2 separate regions of the Homo sapiens genome follow, and region 1 is linked to region 2. The links are contacts of gene promoters, found by promoter capture Hi-C in human tissues and cell types (Jung and others, 2019). All regions are on one chromosome and are shown on one strand. Each heading gives the region's core, a stretch centred on a gene start or on the middle of the fragment in contact. The rest is flanking DNA. Distances are from core to core; before and after follow the strand shown. Region 1 has its middle 17 kb from the start of MGP. Region 2 holds the start of SMCO3 (single-pass membrane protein with coiled-coil domains 3).

What was found. Contacts are between HindIII fragments. The study calls those that stand out against the background at their distance.
Region 1: a contact is called between a fragment that was not itself captured here and the fragment with the promoter of SMCO3 in region 2, in 1 of the 25 tissues and cell types used here (hippocampus).

The regions. Positions count from the first base shown.
Region 1 is chr12:14,867,216-14,870,509 of GRCh38, reverse strand. No RefSeq gene overlaps it. Among named protein-coding and RNA genes, the nearest start is that of MGP, 17 kb to the left of the region's middle. The HindIII fragment of the contact is 5,221 bases long and covers 1-3,294 here.
Region 2 is chr12:14,812,433-14,815,832 of GRCh38, reverse strand. SMCO3 (single-pass membrane protein with coiled-coil domains 3) reads left to right here and starts at 1,651. Exons shown (of 2, transcript NM_001013698.2): 1 at 1,651-1,707. The region is part of intron 1 of C12orf60 (chromosome 12 open reading frame 60); the gene reads right to left. The HindIII fragment of the contact is 14,769 bases long and covers 1-3,400 here.

The DNA.
Region 1 (3,294 bases), core at 785-3,284, 54 kb before region 2:
CCATCTTGACTCTTCCTTAATATGCACAGATAACATATATTTGAGGTAGGCATATTTAGGGCTTGGAATTTCTTTTTTGGACAACTGATTTAATTCTTTAGGTCTTATCGAAACCATAGCTGTGAATTAAATGTGGTCAGAAGCAGATAGGTAACTAAGAGTTTGACAATAAAGGAAAGAAAGGAGTTTCTATTATTTTCTAAGCGTCTCTGTGACTCATAATCTTAAGTGTAATTAAACTAATACAAGCATGTATTACACATTTTATTTTGCTATGGTTTGTGTGATGTACCGGAAATGAAGCTGATGGGGAGAGGGCAGAGATGGCCAATTAGAAGCAGCTGTGGTACCTGGCTCTCACAAAGAGGAAAGAAAGGAGCAAGTGAATACCACACCTCCAACTGAAATATCCAGGTACTCGCAGTGAGGCTGATCAGGAAAACAGCTTGACCCATGGAGAACATAGAAAAGCAGGGTGGGGCGATAGCCCACCTGAGAGCAACACAGAGCCAAGGGAACCCCCATCCCCAGCCACAGGAAGCAGTGAGTGACTGTGTGACCCCAAGAAACCAGACTTCTCCCACAGATCTTTGCAACTGTCAAATCAAGAGATTCCCTTGTGAGCCCACACCACAGGGCCTTGGGTCCGACACACAGAGCTGTGTAGAGTCTCAGCACAGCAGCTGCTCAGGCACACACAGAGACCCAGGAGCTTTACCTACTCTGGCTTTGGGATCCTCAGCAAGGCAGGAGACCTGTATATACCCCTAGGAAGGGAGCTGAATCCAGGGGGCCAGTGTCAGTCTGTGGGCCTCACTTCCACGGTACCTCACAAGATAAGATCTACTGGCTTGGATTCCAGCCAGCTACTAGCAACAGGGTGGAGCCTGCCTGAGATGGGTCAGAGACCCGGAGGACAGAGGCAGGCCACCATCTCTGCTGTTTGGTCAACTCAGCCATTCCAGCCTGTGAGCTTTGGAAAATCCAAATGGTCTGGACAAGGAAAGATTCCCCCCAACACAGCAGAGCTGCTTTGCCAGAATGTGCCCAGATTGCCTCTTTAAGCAGTATCCCAAAACATTCCTCCTCACTGGGCAGGACCTCCCATCTGGAACCTTCGGCCACTCCTGCCCATTTTCTATGGACAGAGTTCTGATCTCTCCCTGAGGGAGAGGTGTGGGCCACCGCCTTGGTTGTTTGGACAACTAAGCCACTCCAGCCTGCAGGGTGTGGAGAGTGCAAGTTGACCAGCACAGAGGCAGCTCCCCAGCATGGCAGAGCTCTTTTGTCAAGGTGTAGTCAGACTGTTTCTTCAAACAGGAACCCAATCCACTCCTCCTTGCAGGGCAGGTCCTCCCAGTCAGGGCCTCTGGCTACCCTGCTCTAAGGACAGAGGTCTGATTTCTCCCTGGGATGGGTGCCCAGGGGGAGGAGCAGGTCACCATCTTTGCTGTTTGGGTGACTCAGCCATTCCAGCCTGTGGGCTTTGGTGAGTCCAAGCTGACATGGCCGGGGATGGGTCCCCAGGACTCCATGACTGTCTTGTTAAGGTGTGGCCAGACTGCTTCTATAAAAGGGGGCAGGATCCATTCCTCCTTGCTGGGCAGGTCCTCCCAGCTGGGGCCCCAGGCCACCCCTGCCCATGTTCTATGACCAACAGAGTTCTAATTTCTCCCTGGAATGGGGGAGCCCACGAGATGGGGCAGGCCACCACCTTTGCTGTTTGGGCATCTCAGCTAGTCCACCCTGCAGACCTTGGATTGGGGGCTGAAGGGATCCTCAACATAGCACAGCTGCTCTACCAAAAAGCAGCCAGACTGATACTTTAAGCAGGTCCCTGATCTCGTTCCTAGTGACCCCAACCAGGGTCTCCAGCCACCTTGTACAGGCATGTTTAGGCCAGCAACAGGTCAGTAGCCCTCAGGGCAGAGCTCCCAGAGAGAGGGGCAGGCTGCCATCTTTGCTGTTTTGCAGCATTCACTGATGATACCTTCAGGTACTAGAAAAACCGAGGTGACTAGGGTCTGGATTGGACCCCCAGCCAAACACAGCAGCCCTACAGAAGAATGGCCAGGCTGTTAAAAGAAAAACAAACAAAGAAAAAACAACAATAACAACAACAAAAGAAAACACAAAAGAACCCATCCAAAGGTGAGCAACCTTAAAGATCAAAAGTAGATAAGCCCACAAAGATGAGAAAGTATCAATGCAAAAACAATGAAAACTCAAAAAACCAGAGTGCCCCCTTTCCTCCAAATGACCACAACACCTCTCCAGCAAGGGTTCAGAACTGGGCTGAGGCTGAGATGGCTGAAATGACAAAAGTAGTCTTCAGAATGTGGATGAAAACAAGCAAACAAACTTCGCTGAACTAAAGGAGCATGTTGTAACCCAATGCAAAGAAGCTAAGAAACATGATAAAACAATGCAGGAGTAGACAGCCAAAATAACCAGTATAGAGAGAAACATAATCGACCTTATAAAGCCAAAAAACACACTACAAGAACTTCACAATGCAATTCAAAGTATTAATAGCAGAATAGACCAAGCAGAGGAAAGAATCTCAGAGCTTGAAGACTGTCTTTCTGAAATTACAGACAGACAAGAATAGTGAAAAAGGAATGAACGAAACCTCCAATATGGGATTACGTAAAGAGACTAAATCTATGACAGATTTGGGTACCAAAAAGAGATGCAGAGGCTGGAATCAATTTGGAAAACATACTTCAGGGTATCATCCCAGAGAACTTCTGCAATCTAGCTACACAGGCCAACATTCAAATTCAGGAAATGCAGATAACCCTGGTAAGATACTTTACAAGATAATCCCCAAGACACATAATCATCAGATTCTCCAAGGTCAAAATGAAAGAAAAAAATGTTAAGGGCAGCCAGACAGAAAGGCTTGGTCACCTAACGAAAGGAAGCCCATCAGACTAACAGCAGACCTCTCAGTAGAAACCCTACAAGCCAGAAGAGATTAGGGGCCAATATTCCACATTCTTAAAGAAAAGAATTTCCAGATTCTGTTCCAAGATGGCCAAGTAGGAACAGCTCCAGTCTGCAACTCCCAGCGTGATTGATGCAGAAGATGGGTGATTTCTGCATTTCCAACTGAGGTACCTGGTTCATCTCATTGGGACTGGTTGGACAGTGGGTGCAGCCCATGGAGGGTGAGATGAAGCAGGGCCGGTTATCGCCTCACCCAGGAAGTGCAAGGGGTCAGGGGATTTCCCTTTCCTAGCCAAGGGAAGCCACAACAAATAGTATCTGGAAAAACGGGATACTCCTGCC
Region 2 (3,400 bases), core at 402-2,901:
GAAACAAACACCTTAGGAACAAGTGGGTTAAATGGTACTCTTCAACAATAGCCTCTTCGGAAACAAAATGCAACTGTTTTAAGACAGGGTAAAAGACAGACATATTTTGTCCACATACTGTAGGCAATGGGGTTGGTAACTTATGCTTTATTGTCCATACCTACTAATCAAGTTTACATAATGTACCCTTCCTGAAATCCAAATCTCCAAATATTACACCATAATTAAAAGGATTTTTTAATGGTTCATTATTATCTACAGAATGAAATACAATTTCCTAGCATGACATCTAAGGCTATCTACAAACTATTTTCAATTTTCCATGACTTACCTTCCCTTAACTGCTCCCACTTACACCCTGTATCACCAGCAGGTTGGTTTTTGTTCCCTGAAAATGTTCTACAATTTTTGGTTCAGCTCCTTTGCTCTCAGTGTTCCCTCTATCTGTATTATTTCCTCTATACCACCATCCTCCCCAAACATCTATTAAAATCCTACTTAACATCCATACCTAGTTCAGATACACTGGCCACACATCCGTACGTGGTGGGGCCCTGGATACATCAAGGGCAAGATGATCCACTGGGACAAAAGTAGAAAAGTGACCCCACTTAGCCCTTCTTTAGAATCACAGGGCAGCATCTTTAGATTTTAAAGTTTCCTGTCTGCCTGTCTGGCATTTTGATTCTGTATCCTGTACCCACCCATTCTCCTCTCCCCTCCACCAGGAGATACTGTTGTTAATATATGAATAGCTACCGTTTCATAAGATTTTGCCACATATCAGCCACTATGCCAATTACTTTATAAACACTATCCCATTTAATCCATAAATTATTAACTAATACTCATATTACACCAATGGGAAAACTCAGGCTAAGTGACTTTCTTAGGATTACATGACTAGTAAGTGGTACTTGGAGTACACAAAACCAGGACTGTCTGAGTGTAAAGCCTGCTGTCTTTCACTAAGTTACACTGGGGCTGAGTGATTTCCCTGCCACTCAGGTGTCTTTGCTGTGGAGGAATTAACGGGTCTGAAGACTGAAGCTGGGAAGAAGCAGCAGGGAAGACTGATCTGAGCTTTCAGGGAAAAGAGTGAAGTTGGACTTTAAGGTTTTTATATTGTCAAGACAATTTACAAACACAGGAAGAGAAAGAATGACAAAGAGGAGAACTCCTAGCTGGAAAGAAGAGAAAAAAAAATTGGATGCAAGTAACTGCATTTATATATCTTGAGAATTTAAATAATCAGCAACAGTTAGAGGTGCAAATGCAACAGAAGCTAAAAGAAACTTAGTATCTGGAATAGTTGACAAGATAAAACCCCAAAATCTGAGAGCTGCAATCAAAGAGCCATCTTCTCTACTAAATTGAATTAGCTCAGTTATATAGCGCTTCTCAACAATAAAAAGTCCATTAAAGAACAGAAATTTAAAAATAAGTTTTACACACTATTAGTCTTCCAGTTTATATAACTTAATACTGTATACTAAGTTTTTATTAATAGGAAATGAAGGAATTCTGAGGGCCAAGCCATGTAGAAATAGCCTATAAACCAGACAGGCAGAGGGACCCAGCAGAGACTAGCAAAGTCTGTAAGTCATCACATTCCATCAGAAATATCCAGATGAAACCAGATGAAAAAGCACTTTAACAATACTCCTAAACAACTGCTAGGACCACGGAACTCAGAAACACAGCAAGGTAAGCAACGTGGATATTTCTATTAGTATTGATATAATACTCTGTTTCTCAGTAGTAGGAGGAATTTGAATTAGCCCGTCAGTCTTGAATCCTAACCATAAATAAAATAAAGTAAAAAAACAGCTTTGTTATAAGAGGATCCCATGACATGTTCCTTGTGATTTGGAAGGAACCTTTCCTGGTGCCTTCTCTGAAGACAGCAGAGAAGGAAGAAAATTAACAATTTCTAGGACTGATTAAGTCAGAGTGGAAGAGAAGCAGTAAAGACATCAATTCTAAGAAGGATTAAGGATGAAATGATACCTGTGTGAATGTGTGAAGTTTACATGGATAGTAACATTTCCTTCTATGTCATTAATATTAATATAGGCACTCAGTACCTATCTATGAAAGAATGAATGTGGAATCTAATACTGGTTAATGTATAGTACTTATACTCCTTCATAAATTATGTTGTATCTAAATATCTCTGAGCATTTGCTGTGTGTCTCCAAACAGGCTGTTATCGTCTTGAGGGCAAGGAACATTGTCGTTTTCAAATGCCTCAAGGGACACAGTAGAGGCTTCACCAGTGAGCACTTGATAAATGCTGATGAATGACTTTAATATTCTTCTTTCTGGTCAGAAACATTTTTTAAATGAATTTATATCAGAAAGTATATCATCACATCATGATCAATTTTTGTTTTAATTAAAGGCCACAGATTTTTATTTGAATTAAAGGAGACTCAGAACTAGTTAGAAGCTGTTATTTTCTTCTGAAAAGCTCCTGATTTTACCTATACCCTATTTCCACACTCCCAGATAAGGAAACTGTGCATGATGGCAAAACCCTGTTTGGACAGTGAAGAAAAGTGACAGCAAGAAGAAATGTAAAACCTCAGAGAGCACTAACGACTAAACATCAGAGGTTTAGACAGGGTCACGTTTTTCTTTTTCTTTCTTTTTTATTTGTTATAAGAAAAGTTCAAACATACACAGAAGTAGAGACAATAATATAATAAACTCCCATGTACCCATAACTCAGCTTTAAAAATTATCAAAACAAGGCCAATCTTTTTTCCTCTATAACCCTACCCCACTATTCTTTCCAGATTATTTGTGAACAAATCTCTGAGACCATTTCATTTCATCTTAAATGTTTTCAGTATGTATTTCCAAATAGGCAAGAACTTCTCTTTTTGAAATTTAACCTTACTCTTCCCAAATCAACAATATTTAAACAGGACCATCTTTGACTGGGAAATATACCAGCACTATGCTCAGTATCTGGGTGACAGGATCATTCACAGTAAACCTCAGCAACACACAGTATAGTCAGGGAACAAACCTGTGTATGTACCTCCTGAATCTAAAATAAAAATTGTAAAAATTTTATAGCAGGATACCCAGTATCCTGCTATAAAAATTTATTTGGGGTAGCACAGTAAAAGCTTTTGGAATGCAATTTACGATACATATCAAAAGTAATAAAAATTTAATTCCCATTACTTATGCCACTAATTATGTAATTCTTCTAGGTACTTATGCTGAGGAAATAATCCAGATAATGGAGGAAAAAAAATCTGTGGGTATCAAAATGCTCATTAGAATATTAGTGATAGTGAAACAATTTTAGATTTATTGAACCAGGGTAAAGACAGGGAATAGTATACGTAACCAATAAAATTTTTTTTTTTTTTGAGACGGAGTC